Regions from separate parts of the Homo sapiens genome. Here all the other regions are linked to region 2. Evidence: promoter capture Hi-C in 16 types of primary human blood cells and fetal thymus (Javierre and others, 2016). All regions are on one chromosome and are shown on one strand. The core of a region is centred on a gene start or on the middle of the fragment in contact, and the rest is flanking DNA. Distances in the headings are between cores, read along the strand shown.

Region 1 (4,436 bases), core at 411-2,910, about 27 Mb after region 2:
CCCCAACCAATCCTAATTTTAAAAAAAAATCTTGTTTTCTCTATTCTAGAACAACAAATAAGTACTGCTCATCAAAGTGGAAGCTATTGTGATGCTGGAATGGTAGGAAGATACAAAAAAAATACAATGTAATAATACACCTTCTTGCCTTACAGCGATGGAGGAGTGATAGAAACAAAGAGAACAGGTCAGAAAAAGAGGCCACAAAACAGTCATGAGTGATTCTGCTGTTTTTAATAAAGGTTAAGTACTGCTAAGTTTAGAGAATTTGGGGTGACGAGACAGGCAAGGTTTCAACAGGCAAAGCAGCAGAATTAGGGCACAGGGCAGAGCTGGGTGGGTCTCATCACACATCTAATCCTCGATGACAGCACAAAGCCACCTCTCCTTGTGCTTAAGTGTACACGCACATTGATTGAAAATGCACTAAAATCCAACTCATCCACCAAGCAAGGCTAAAGGCGCGCACACAAATTCAACAGCGCTGCGTTCGCGTGGCTGGAGGGCAGACGGGGAATATTCCATTTTACTTAGTAGAGTATCAACACCTAGCTGCAGGGTTAAACCTGCTTAACAAAAGCTGGCGAGGGGCTGGAGAGGTGCACACCATCAGCCCTCTCCCGAGCGCCGACCGGCCTCGCCCTGCCTCTGCGCTGCACCCTGGGTGCAGGCGGACTGGGGCAGGGCCGCGACCCCGGCCTCGGCCTCCGCCTCCGCCCGGCCAGCCCCGACGCGGTGCCACGGGACAGACCCGCAGGGGCCACCCCACACCCCTGCGGGCCGGCCCCCCGCCCCGGTCCCGGACGCTAGCTTGGGAAGGCAGGCCGGGGGCCCAGCCATCGATGGCAAGTGGGCGGCGCGGCCTCCGCAGACAAAGCTGGGCGCCCCATCGAACAGGACCCTCCGCCCCACGCGCCCGCAACCGGCCAGCCCCGGAGCCCTGCCCGCACTGCCACCCCCAGCCCGGCGCCCGGCCCCCAGCCCCCGGTGCTCGGCTCCCGGCCGGCGGAGACCTGCCCGCCGCGCCCGGAGCGCCCGCGCAACCGCCGCCGCCGGAGCGCGCAGGCCGCCCAACCGCCGTCCCGGCCCAACCAACGCGGGCAGGGGAGGAGAGGTGCGCGCGGCCGGCGGAGCGTGCGAGCCACTCGGGGGTCGCAGGGGGAGGCTGCGCGCGGCGAAGGCAGGGGCGACGAGACGCCGAGGCCGGCGCTGAACGCGGCGCCAGGAGGGCCTGCTGGAGGGGGCCTTGCCCTCTTCCCCTTGGAAGGTGCAGATGGTTTGACCCCCCACCCCGAGTGAGGTGCCTCGTCCCAGCCCCGGCTGGACTGTACCATCGGGCGGTGCCGCCGGGATTTCTCCCCCCCACCACCACCATCAATTCCCCCCCCACCCGGGTCCGCGGTCGGTTGGCCCCGGCCGGGCTCTGAGACGCGGAAAGAGCTGGGCGCCATTTTGGGTGGGACTAAGCAAAGACGAAACACCCTCCCAGTCTATGGGGTAGTCTGGACCCTGGCTTATCTGGTTCCCTTAATCCTTTAGGTACTTACACGACGTTGGGTGAGGGGAGCTGGAAGATCAGCGGGTCCCCGATCCTCTCTCCCTAGGGGTGATAGAAATCAACCCCCCCCGCCACCTCCAGGTGGTTCTTCCCGCCGCAGAGTGGGAGCAGCATAAAAGGCGGGGTCTTATTAGCATAATCTGCCTGGCAACCTGATCTCGACGTTATATGATTGGTTAAACTCTGTAAGCCCCATGCCGTGCCTAGAGACGAGAAACGCTGGGGCGAACTGACAGGCCCAGATTTAGGAGTCATGACGAAGATCCTGAGACGCTTATTCAGTCTGCAGAGAAGCCAAAAGGAGATTCACATAATGGCCCAATGACTGAAGGCCTCTTTATTTCGTGCTCTGCTGTTCGTGTAAAACCCAATCGCAGAGCGGGTCTCAGGCGGCGCTCGCCTGCGTTTCTACTCTCAGCCAATCAGAAAACCCGACTCTTCGCATTGGGGTCAAGCCCCCGCTGCGGCCCGCGTGCTAACGGGGAGGAAGCTTCCAGCTGTGCCTGGGTGTCTCGGGCGCCGAGGGCAGCCTGCGCCCGTGCTAAGCCCGCCTCCCGCGCGCCCGAGGGCCCGGTGTCCCGGAAGACGCGCGGGGGTGAGGCGGCCCTCGCGTCCGCCCGCCCCGCCACAGATTGCCTCCGAAGTGGCCTGGCCGTGGAGCGCCGGCGAAAACCGAACTCCCGCCCGGCTCCCGGAGTCGGGAGCCTGCCGGGGTCTCGCCCTCAGGACCCCCAGGGAGCGGCCGGGCGCCGCCTATCACCCTGACCCACCGCACCTTGAGAGCGCTTTCACTGCGCCTCTTTTTTCTCCTCTACCAATCTGGAAAGGAAGTGAGTGTCATTTCAGACATTGAGAAACATTATTCAACACTGGTTACCCAGTGACTCAGCTCACTCCTTAACCGCAGGCTTCCACATCCTGCTGTCCCTTAAAATTGCCTTCACAAAGGGCAGCCAAGAGCCCAGCTTTGGAGAGATACCCAGCTCCAACTACCCACTGGCAGGCAATACGCAGGGCAGCTAGATGGCAGAGAGACCTTGGACCTTCGGACCTTCGGGGAGCGGTTTTCCCTTCGGTGATATCTACCTTGCTATGTTCGTGATATCTACCTTGCTACGTTATTTTGAAGATTAAGTGAGCTCTTACTTTACCGAGTAAAGTGCTTTGCTTAGCACACTGTCTGGAACTTAAATGAGAAGTACTGACAATATAACTTACAAAAATCCTAAACTATTGCCTGAGAAAAAGAGGGAGACAGGACAGCTAAGCAAAAGACGAGAATAGAAAACACCCACAGCGTGAAAAACTGTAAAATTAACTCAATAGTATTCTCTTTACTGTTTTTTGTTTTGTTTTGTTGTTTTGTTTTTTGATACGGAGTCTCGCTCTGTTGCCCAGGCTGGAGTGCAGTGGTGAGATCTGGGCTCATTGCAACCTCTGCCTCCCGGGTTCAAGCGATTCTCCTGCCTCAGCCTCTCTAGTAGCTGAGATTACAGGCATGCACCACCACGCCCGGCTAATTTTTGTATTTTCAGTAGAGATGGGGTTTCCCCATGTTGGCCAGGCTGGTCTCAAACTCTAACGTCAAGTGATTCTCCCGCCTTGGCCTTCCAAATTGCTGGGATTACAGATGTGAGCCACTGCGTCTAGTCTACCATTTTGTTTCTTTAAATAGCTGGAAACAACGTGGAAAGAAAAGAGAGCTTTTTTTTTTTTTTAAACTTCGTGACAGGGTGCGGTGGCTCACGCCTGTAATCCCAGAATTTTGGGAGGCCGAGGCGGGTGGATCGCTTGAGCACAGGCGTTCGAGACCAGCCTGGGCAACATAGTGAGACTCTGTACAAAAAACAAAAAGATTAGCCAGGCATGGCAGTACACATCTGTGGTTCCAGTTACCGGCAGGCTGTGCAGGAGGGTTACTTGAGCCCAGGAAGTCAAGGCTGCAGTGAGCTGTGATCGTGCCACTGCACTACAACCTGGGTGATAGAGCAAGTCTCTGTCTTTAAAAAAACAAAACAACAACAAGAAGAAACTTCAGACAGTTAACTGCTTTGTAAACAACTTCACATCTAGGCCGTGTCTTGTTCTTCCTTAAACCACTGTACAGGTGGCACTGGACTTAGATGAGGCCGACCTTAACATAGCTAGTGAGAGACACTAGTAGCCCTACTCTGGCAACACAGACATGGAAATCAGTTGCCTAAGGAAAGATCATATTGGCTAAGAGAGTCCCTTGAATGCTCCCTTTTAGTGTTACGAGTAGATGAACAATGCCGCAGGTTGGACAGGTCCTTCTGTGTCCTTGCAAAAGCTGCCACTCCACATACCCCTGGCCTCAGTAAGAACGGCTCACTTTTAGATTTAACATCATTACATCCTTGCTGATGAACTGAGATGGTCCCAACTGAGGTCCACTGACCAGAAACAACACCACAGAACCCAAAAGAGAACGCACCATGGGGAATGGGGCTATTCAAACTGAAGAGCCTGAGTTACTCTCATGGCTTTAGAGAAATGTTCTAAAACTTCTAAGTACATAAATATGTGCAGGGAGATTCCTCCCCACAGAGTTTTTATTCAGAGGGTCTGGAGTGAACCTCAGGAATTTGCTTTTTATGTGGATTTTTAAATGATTTTTAAAGTTTACACTGTAAAATTCACTCACTGGGGTATACAAGAAGTATTTATTGAATATGTACTGTGTGCCATTCATTTTTCTAAACAATAAAGATAGAATAGGGAACAACAGCAACCAAAAAAGGCCCTGCTGTCATGCAGCTTTATTCTAGTGTAGGTAACAAGAAGAAAAGAAATAACTCCAGGTCATGATAAGTGCTACAAAGTAAACCAGGAAAATGCAAAGGCAGAGAACGCTGGC
Region 2 (4,472 bases), core at 1,955-4,454:
GTATAAAAGAATATTCACAAGCATCTATTAAAATCTTCATTTTTTAGCTTCTCAATTTTTAAACTACATATCTGTGTGAGGCTGGATATTCTCTATATACTTCAATCCAAACAACGTATTGCAAGAGATGGAATGCAGAAGAACATAGAGGATCCAGTTGTCTTCTGTTAAGGCAGACAGGAAAGGGACTTAACAAAAATGTAAAAACAATGCCATTCTTCTCATCATTTTTTTTTGCCTTTTAGAAATATAATTATTTTCATAAAAATGTTATTTATTTTACCAAGAATGGTCTTATTATGCTTATTTTAAGATAGATAGATATTTCAAAAATTTCTCAGTTTTAATTTTGATTACAATAAATGTTGATAGAAATAAACTACAGAAACAAAATCCTTTTGAAGTCTTCAGTAATTTTTTTTATTTTATTTTTTTTGAGACAGAGTCTTGCTCTGTTACTCAGGTTGGAGTGCAGTGGCACGATCTTGGCTCACTGCAACCTCTGCCTCCCAGGTTCAAGCTATTCTTCTGCCTCAGACTCCCGAGTAGCTGGAATTACAGGTGTGCGCCACTGTGCCCGGCTAATTTTTGAATTTTTAGTAGAGACGGGGTTTCACCATATTGGCCAGGCTGGTCTCAAACTCCTGACCTCATGATCTGCCCGCCTCAGCCTCCCAAAGTGCTGGGATTACAGGCGAGAGCCACTGTGCCTGGCAGTAATTTTTTAAAGTATAAAAATAATTGTTTAAAGTATAAAGTATAAAAAGGTCACCAAAAAGTTTGGGAAATGGCATATAGGACAAAATTAGGAAACCCTGTCTCAGAAAGTTTTGGGCCTTCCCCTTCAGCTCACGTTACCTGTTTTTATGCCACCTGCCAGACAACTGCTAAGACAATGCTCCACATTAAAAAAAAAAATCATTACTACACTATGGATATCAATTACTCTTTTGGTTAGAGTAGCCTAAATTGCCATAAAAATAGCCCACACAGTTTAATGTACAATGCCTCAAACACAACAAAGCTTATTTCTTGCTTATTTAACAACTGCAGACATTATTCCACTCTGTGATTCAGGATCCTAGGGTCCTACTCTTGGAAAGTTTTGCCATCCCTGTTGCTTTATTGTTATCTGCAACCAGCTGGCAAAAGTTAAGGTATTCTCACTTCTTTAAAACTTTGCCTTGAAGACGCACACATTACTTCTTCTCACATTTTATTGGTGAGAATTAGTCACATGACCACACCTGGATGGTAGCCACTTCTTAGCTATGGAAGGGAAAAATAGATTTTGGTGGATATCTGGCTAACACTGTGATATGGTATATAGAGATTGGCTCAGAATTGGATTTTGGTAGGAATCTTGGTTCTACCACTTACCATCTCTGTGTTTTTGTGTAAGTTATTTAATCTGTGAGGTTCTTTCTTCTTTATTGTATGCTTGATACAATACATAAAGTCCGTATCTGTCTTTTCTTCCCACTCTGTGCCTCATTTTTCGTATATAGTAGTGAAAAGGAAACACAAAACTTCTATTTCATGGGGTTTACATGTCAACGGGAGCTTCCATGTTTGAGATCGGTGTTAAACTTGATTCAAACACAATTTCATAGTTTGTGGAAGCCCTAAGTTTCCTGAAGAGTTCTAAAAATTCTTGGGAGGATCACATACTCATGATCTCATCTGCTTTCTAGACTCATCTTCCTACATGTGTTGCCTTTTTATTTACCATATTGTTATGGAAGCTCAATTCAGCCATTTCATACATTTCCACCAAAACAACTCACCAAACCGAGCACTTGTGGGTAATGGAGACTTTCCTGAAGACCTTGGTAAGAGTGATAATGCTCATTGCAGAGCAGGAAACTCTGTAACCATAGTGGTCACTTTGGCTTTCAAAATCTTTTTATTAGCTACACAGTCATCTTGGGTTCCTGTTAGGATTTTTTCCCTCACCCAGTGGTCAGCATCCCACCTCACTGTTTGGATGTTTTCCCATCCAGTGGCCAGACTCCCATCTCTCACTGTTTGGATATTTCATGAGAATTTACATTCATTTCCTTTTATAATTTAGAGCAGTTCAGCTTTTTTAAGTTCCCACTCCAAAATCTTAAGTTGCTCAGCAAATAAAAGGACTCTCTCCTTCCAATTCTCAAATAGTATAGTTTTAAGGGGAGGTTATGATTATTAAGTGCAAACAAAAAAAATCTGCATATGTTTGTGTACCCTAGGATCTTGGGTCAAACCAGTGCTGAGGTGATGAATGACTACAGCAAAAACTTCCTGAGGGCAGGAACTGTGTCCCCAGGGCCTAGTTCGGTACTTGGCAAATTGTGTTAGATTGGTGCAAAAGTAATTACAGTTCTTGCCAAAAAACCGCAATTACGTTTGCACCAACCTAATAGCATGTAGTAAATATTTTTAGAAGAGAATTACTGAATTGAGAAAGTGTTTGACGAATGTTCGGATGAATGACCAGCAATTTAGTAGTTTATAGTAATGCCATGAAGTAGAAAATGACAAAGACCGTTTTCATATCTGTATTTTCACAGAATTTGGTTGCGGTTGTTATAAAATAAACTAAAAAGTATCATTTTACATTTTAGCTATTTTACAAATATGGTTGTGCTCGGGTAATGATTGCAATAAAAAATTGCTGGTTAAATTATTCTAAAATTAATAATAGAAAAAACGATGTTGGGAAATGCAGCAGCACAGAAAGGAGCAGAGGGCGACTGAGAAAGTAAATTAACATTGTATTGAATTCCTAGTCTTTATAAGCTTCTCTAAAAAGCGATTTTTAAATAGTAATCTTTTACAATCCGCACTACACCCCTGGTTGTGAGATAGTATTTCCCCTTCTTAACAGATGTGTACCTTGACGCTGACAGACTGGTTTGCTACCAGGTGCACGTGGAGAGCGAGCACTGGAACCCAGCTCTCCTAAATCTAGATCACGCTGCTGTACTTGAAGGCTAGATGTCTCTCTTCTGATTATGCGTGATAAGAAATCAGTAAGAAGAATAAAAGACATGTTTGAGAGCCAACATAAACTTGTCCGAACCCCTTACAATCGATGACCGCAGGGAGCCGCTGAAGAGCTCCGAGGCGGTCGATAGCCTCCGCGAGCTTTGCGTGCGCGTGCCCCGAGAGGGCAACGCCCACCGCGCGCCGCCAGCGACGCCGCCGTAGTGCTCCGTCGCCATAGCGACTACCCCTGGCAACCGCGAAGCTCTGCGGTCCCGCGGTCGGGCTACGGGTTTGAGCAAAGCTCCTCTCTTCCCTTCACTTCCCTCCGGACTGGTTTCTTCTTCCTTCCCCCTTCCCCCAACTTCCCTCCACCCCTTCCAATCATGGCGAACGGGACTGCGGACGTTCGGAAGCTCTTCATCTTCACTACTACCCAGAATTACTTCGGGTTGATGTCTGAACTCTGGGATCAGCCACTGTTGTGCAACTGTCTTGAAATCAACAACTTCTTGGATGACGGCAACCAGATGCTCCTCAGGGTGCAGCGATCCGACGCAGGAATCTCCTTTTCCAACACGGTACGGTTCCTTGCACTCCTGCCTGACCCCTGACCACTCTTCAAGTCCCCAGGCCCAGCCAGAGGGACGTCGGGTCACACTCTTTAGCTTTACCAACCAGATCCTTTTCAGGAACCCAAGGCTGTCTCCACTTCTCCTGCATTATTGGCTTAGATGCGTTGGCCTCGTGCTTAAGCAGGTAGTTTCCAAGCTTTGCATCCTACCTGACCGAAGCATGTTTCCCTTCCATACATCTGAATAGAAGCAATTAGATTGTGTTTTATTTTAAATTTTTATACGGAGTTTCGTTCTGTCGCTTAGGCTGGATGGAGTGTAGTGGCGCGATCTCTGCTCACTGCGTCCTCCACCTCCTGAGTTCAAGCGATTCTCGTGCCTCAGCCTCCCGAGTAGCAGGCGCGCGCCGCCACGCCTGGCTAATTTTTGTATTTTCAGTAGAGACGGGGGTTTCACCACGTTGGCCATGTGGGTCTCCATCTCCTGACCTCAAGTGATCCGGCCTCCCAAAGTGCTGGGATTGCAAGCATGAGCCACCGCGCCCGGCCTATATTCTACTTTTTAAGAAAGACTGCAGATACGTTATAACTAAAAAGAAAACATTTACTTAGTTATTTTTATTTTTTTCTCTCCCCTTTTTGAGTTTTTTTTTTGGGGGGAAGGCAAATTCTAGTCTATCTTTTTTGGATCAGGCTCTGATTTTAACATTGCCCAAGGGAAAGATTAGTTAGGAATTTAAATTTTTGTGAAATGATATATTTCAAAATAAAGTTTGAATTCTTTTTTGGTGTACATCATGTGATATACTGATTTATTAATTGCACTGCTCCCTCCACTGGCAGGATTGCTTAAAAAATGGGTTGCATTTGCAATCAGGGCTTATATATATAAGCCTAAAAGAAAAACACAGAAGAAAATTGCCTGACACAT
Region 3 (4,743 bases), core at 1,403-3,902, about 83 Mb before region 2:
GGGATTCAGGAAGTTTTCCACCAAATGTTACACAGACAGAAAAAGTTTATGTTGGAAGGATGAAGGGAAAAGTTGGATGGGCCCAGGTAATCAAGTGTTCATTAATTCATTCAGCAAATGCTTATTCAGTGCCTTTCATGTGCCACTGAGCACACAGGCACTGGGGATGCATCCATGAACGATGACTCCAACTCAAGAGAGCCAGCAGCTATTCTGGCAATGTCCTAGGATGTAAGAAAGCTTCAAAATTAATATTTGGGCCGGGTGCGGTCAATCACGCCTGTAATCTCAGGACTTTGGGAAGCCGAGGTGGGCAGATCACTTGAGGTCAGGAGTTCAAGACCAGTCTGACCAACATGGTGAAACCCTGTCACTACTAAAAATATAAAAATTAGCCAGGCATGGTGGTGAGCACCTATAATCCCAGCTACTTGGGAGGCTGAGGCAGGAGAATCGCTTGAACCTGGGAGGTGGAGGTTGCAGTGGGACAAGATCGCACCACTGCACTCCAGCCTGGGCAACCGAGCGAGACTCTGTCTCAAAGAAAAACAAAAACAAAAACTAATATTTAATGGATTCTGTCCTCTAGGAATTTACAATTAAGGGAGAAAAGTACATTTAGAAGTACATTTAGCAATAATATAAGGCATCATTTTTATTCAGTGAATACATTCAGTATCTATTAATACTATGGGCCAGGCCACATATTATGTGCCAGAGAAATGAAAGTAAAGAGACATGGCCCTTACTTACCCTTATTGTTCAGTGCTGTGGGGTATCACCAAAAAAGAAAAAAAAATCAAGTAAGCAAATGGTGGGTGCTAAGAAACTAACAGGATACTCCTGAAATAATGGTGGAAACTATTTTAGAAATGGCCTGAGGAAAGTGTTTCTGGTTGAGACCAAAGGGACCTACCCATGTGTAGAACATTCAATGATTAGCAGTAAATAAAAGGCTTAAGGGTGGGACCCAAGGTGAAGGGTTCCATTGGAAAGAGGCAGGATTATGCAGGGCCTGATAGGCCAATTAGATAAACTCTGCTAGAGCCTGGGGCACTCCCTCCTAAGCAAGAATTCTGGGCCGGGCGGTGGCTCGCGGGCAGGTGGATCACCTGAGGTCGGGAGTTCCAGACCAGCCTGACCAACATGGAGAAACCCTGTCTCTACTAAAAATCCAAAATCAGCCGGACGTGGTGGCGCATGCCTGTAATCCCAACTACTCGGGAGGCTGAGGCAAGAGAATCGCTTGAACCCGGAAGGTGGAGGTTGCGGTGAGCCTGAGATCGTGCCATTGCACTCCAGCCTGGGCAACAAGAGCGAAACTCCGTCTCAAAAATCAAACAAAAAAAAGTTCTATGGTTTGAAGAGATATAAGGAAAGGAAGAAAGGGACGTGGCATGAGGCAGGCAGGGGAACATTTGTGTTCTTCCCCACACAGCAGCCAGATTGTTACTTTCTCAACACATCTGAGAGCATCACTCCCTGGCTTAAATAGTTATGTCTGAGCACTTTACATGTATTAACTCGTTTTATCCTTACTGTAGTTCTGAAGTTAGTCCAGGTTTTTTGTTTTTTGTTTTTTTTTTTTTAAGATGGAGTCTTGCTCTGTTGCCCAGGCTGGAGTACGGTGGCACAATCTCGGCTCACCACAAGCTCCGCCTCCCGGGCTCAAGCAATTCTCCTGCCTCAGCCTCCCAAGTAGCTGGGATTGCAGGCGCGTGCCACCACACCTGGTTAATTTTTGTATTTTTAGTAGGGACAGGGTTTCACCATGTTGGCCAGGCTGGTCTCCAACTCCTGACCTCAGGTGATCCGCCCGCCTCAGCCTCCCAAAGTGCTGGTACTATAGACGTGAGCCACCGTGCCCTGCCCAAGTGCAGTTATTATCCTTGTTTTGTATTTGATGAAACTGAGGCAGAGAGAGGTCGAGTAACTTGCCCAAGATCACAGTTACAAAGTGACGTGGGTAGGATTCAAACCCAGCAGGCTGCCTCTAGAGTTCACGTTCTCACTTAACCAAAGATTAAAATCCGTCTTGGGGGGTTTGACACCTATCTGTCCCTGCAGTAGACCCACCCTGGCCCATGCAGTTCGTTCCCTCTCGCCAGCTGCACCCCCTCCAGGACCTGGGAGCCCAGAAACCAGCCGAGCCTCCAGCGTTTGGCCTCCTCCGCCACCAGAGGGCGTCATGGGCCGATCGCCCCTCCGCTAACCGCTCATCCCAGGAAAAAGGGGCGCACAGAGGACAGGATGCCAACCCCAAAACCGCAGCGACGTCTCTCTGCCTTGGGGCTCACAGCAGCGGGCCGCGACCTCCCACTAACGCCTGCCGCAACCCAAGGAGGAGACAAAAGTCATCTTCCGGGCTGCAACATTAACCGTCATCAGCGCGCCTCTTCAGCGCGCACTGCGCCAACCCTGCGGCAGGAGGAGGCGGAGCCCCCGCTCTCGCCCCGCCCCCACCTCACGTGACCCGCACGGCGCCTCGAGGCCGGAAGCGATTGCGAGCCAGCGCGCGCGCTTCGGCGTTCCCGGCGGTCTGCGAAGTTTCCGGAGCCCGGGTCCCGCCGCGGGTTCGCGCTTGTGCTCGCGCTCGTTCCTGGAGTCGGCGGCCGCTGCGCGCGCTCGTTGCCCAACCCGGTCCCCGCCCCCAGACACGCCGGGCTCTCGGGGCACCACAGCCATGTGCTCGTTAGCGTCAGGCGCTACCGGTGGGTACCCTGGCCCCTCAGCACCCGGCTCGTCCAGCCCCAGGCCGCGCCGCTGTGGGGCCGGTGGAAGACCCTCCGGGACACGGGCCCGGGCAGGGTGGGGGGCTCGCAGGGATCATGAAGGAGGTGCTGAGTGAGGGCCGCGGGCGAACGGGGCGGAGGAGAGCCCATCGTCACCTGCTCCTCGAGCCCCCGGGCCGCACCGGTGTCCGAGGCCGATCTGATTGTTGTGTGTGTGTGTTAGGCGGCCGGGGCGCTGTGGAGAATGAGGAGGACCTGCCAGAACTGTCGGACAGCGGGGACGAGGCCGCCTGGGAGGATGAGGACGATGCAGATCTCCCCCACGGCAAGCAGCAGACCCCCTGCCTGTTCTGTAACAGGTTCGTCCGCCTCAGCGCCTGGCCTCTGCCCTAGGGTGCCCGGGCGCGTGGGGTCTGTGTGCCCAGGAACGCCTTCGGGCGGGAGGCAAGCCAGAGTGGCCTGTCTTTGAATTCTGGAACCACTGGTCTGGGGTGAGGGCTTGTGGAGAAGGAGGACCCTCGGTAGTAGAGAGGGGGAACCGTGAACTGGAAGGCCGGTTGTACTGCAAGCTTTTGACTGGTAGTGCATTGAATCTGTGGTTCCCAAATCTTGTCACTTGAGACGCTGAAAACAAAATGATACTGAACTCTGCACCTGAATCCTTCCAAGTCAGGGATGGGGTCTAAGAATATTCTGTTTTTATGAGGACAAGATCGGAAGTAACAGTGAAGTTACTAACGAGTTACTACTAACGAGTAACATATTTGGCAGCCACCCTGAACTAGATAATCCCTACGGAGCCTTCCGGCTTTACCATGCTAATTCTTTGACCAGTACAGAGCTTCTCAGGTGAAACATTTCTTTTTTATTTGAGCGGTTTCCATAGTCTAAGAAGGAAGTTCACCTTACTTAAGTAGGACTTTTCACTTAAGGAAAAAGACTGTAGTATCAATAATTTGCTCAAGGTCACAAAGCTGTGGTGTGCTTATTTCCAAACTCACATTCTTGCCACTTAAAATTCTGCCTGTTAGTCTTGGGAAGCTTTGGCTCCTGTCCTAGGCAAGTAGGCATGAAAGAGGCCCGGTTGGCATTGGCCGGTGTTACTTTAATACATTTTCCAGTGTTCCCTGTATCTGGGCATGGTGCTGAGTGGTGGTGCGTTAGTGTTCTCATCTGTAGCCCCATTGGGTAGATAGAATGCCTGTATATATTCTAGTTGTCATAAAATATTTATTGAGCACCAGTGGTACCGTGGCTGTGATAGCCTCCATAAATAGTCGACATAACCTATCTCGGTAAACATTTGTGGAAAACTAATGCTCCACATGTGTTAGGAATATAGATAAGGTATACAGCTTCTCTGCTGTGTATTCCTGTCTTTAAGTAGCCTTCAGATTTGCATGTCACATAATAAAGAGGATTGATCCTCACAGTGTCTGTGATGCAAGTACGTTGGGAATACTACAAGATCACTTTTGAAATAAGGCACTTGGGGAGTATGCCAGCTGTAAAATTACATTTTATGCTTTATTTCTAAAAGCAGTTTGAGCTGTGCCAGTTCAAAGCCTCTGAAAGCAGAGTTGACACTTAGAGGAGAAAAGAATCTCAAGTAGAGAAATTGTATGACTTGAGAGAAACAGACTCTATCAAAGGGAACTCTCTTAAAAGCCTTTTGATAAAATCAGTGATATTATTTGACAAATAAATTCACTTTGACATTTAAAGGATAATTGGTTTTAGGTATAAAATGGGACTCAGAAGTACTAATTCCCTTTAAAAGTGCTGGATTCCCTTCCTTTCAGATACAAGTGTGTTTGTTTTTTCTTAATTGGAAGTAAAACTAGAAACCAGCAGAGTTAAAAAAAAAAAAAAAGTGTATATGTAACATGAAATCAGTATTTAGACTTCTTAGGGGACTATTCCATGAAGCTATTGCTTGATTTTTCAGGTTATTCACATCTGCTGAAGAAACATTTTCACACTGTAAGTCTGAGCATCAGTTTAATATTGA

The links. Contacts are between HindIII fragments. The CHiCAGO score rates a contact against its expected background, and 5 or more counts as called.
Region 1: the fragment with the promoter of PRDM10 here is called in contact with the fragment with the promoter of DYNC2H1 in region 2 in 1 of 17 cell types (naive CD8 T cells); the score reaches 8.3 in naive CD8 T cells.
Region 3: a contact is called between the fragment with the promoter of PRMT3 here and the fragment with the promoter of DYNC2H1 in region 2, in 3 of 17 cell types (total B cells, total CD4 T cells and non-activated CD4 T cells). The highest score is 7.4, in total B cells.

The regions. Positions count from the first base shown.
Region 1 is chr11:130,001,175-130,005,610 of GRCh38, forward strand. PRDM10 (PR/SET domain 10) reads right to left here and starts at 1,661. Exons shown (of 21, transcript NM_199437.2): 1 at 1,548-1,661. It overlaps PRDM10-DT (PRDM10 divergent transcript), which reads left to right and starts at 1,450. Exons shown (of 1, transcript NR_024233.1): 1 at 1,450-4,312. RefSeq lists silencers at 695-874, 905-954, 965-1,284, 1,995-2,384 and an enhancer at 1,795-1,884. The HindIII fragment of the contact is 10,759 bases long and covers 1-2,046 here.
Region 2 is chr11:103,106,222-103,110,693 of GRCh38, forward strand. DYNC2H1 (dynein cytoplasmic 2 heavy chain 1) reads left to right here and starts at 3,205. Exons shown (of 89, transcript NM_001377.3): 1 at 3,205-3,548. The coding sequence starts at 3,354. RefSeq lists enhancers at 2,798-2,917, 2,988-3,037. The HindIII fragment of the contact is 957 bases long and covers 2,780-3,736 here.
Region 3 is chr11:20,385,064-20,389,806 of GRCh38, forward strand. It overlaps PRMT3 (protein arginine methyltransferase 3), which reads left to right and starts at 2,653. Exons shown (of 16, transcript NM_005788.4): 1 at 2,653-2,711; 2 at 2,956-3,091; 3 at 4,681-4,743. The coding sequence starts at 2,684. RefSeq lists silencers at 1-47, 2,364-2,923 and enhancers at 1-481, 2,361-2,530, 2,404-3,011, 3,012-3,618, 3,474-3,523. The HindIII fragment of the contact is 3,061 bases long and covers 239-3,299 here.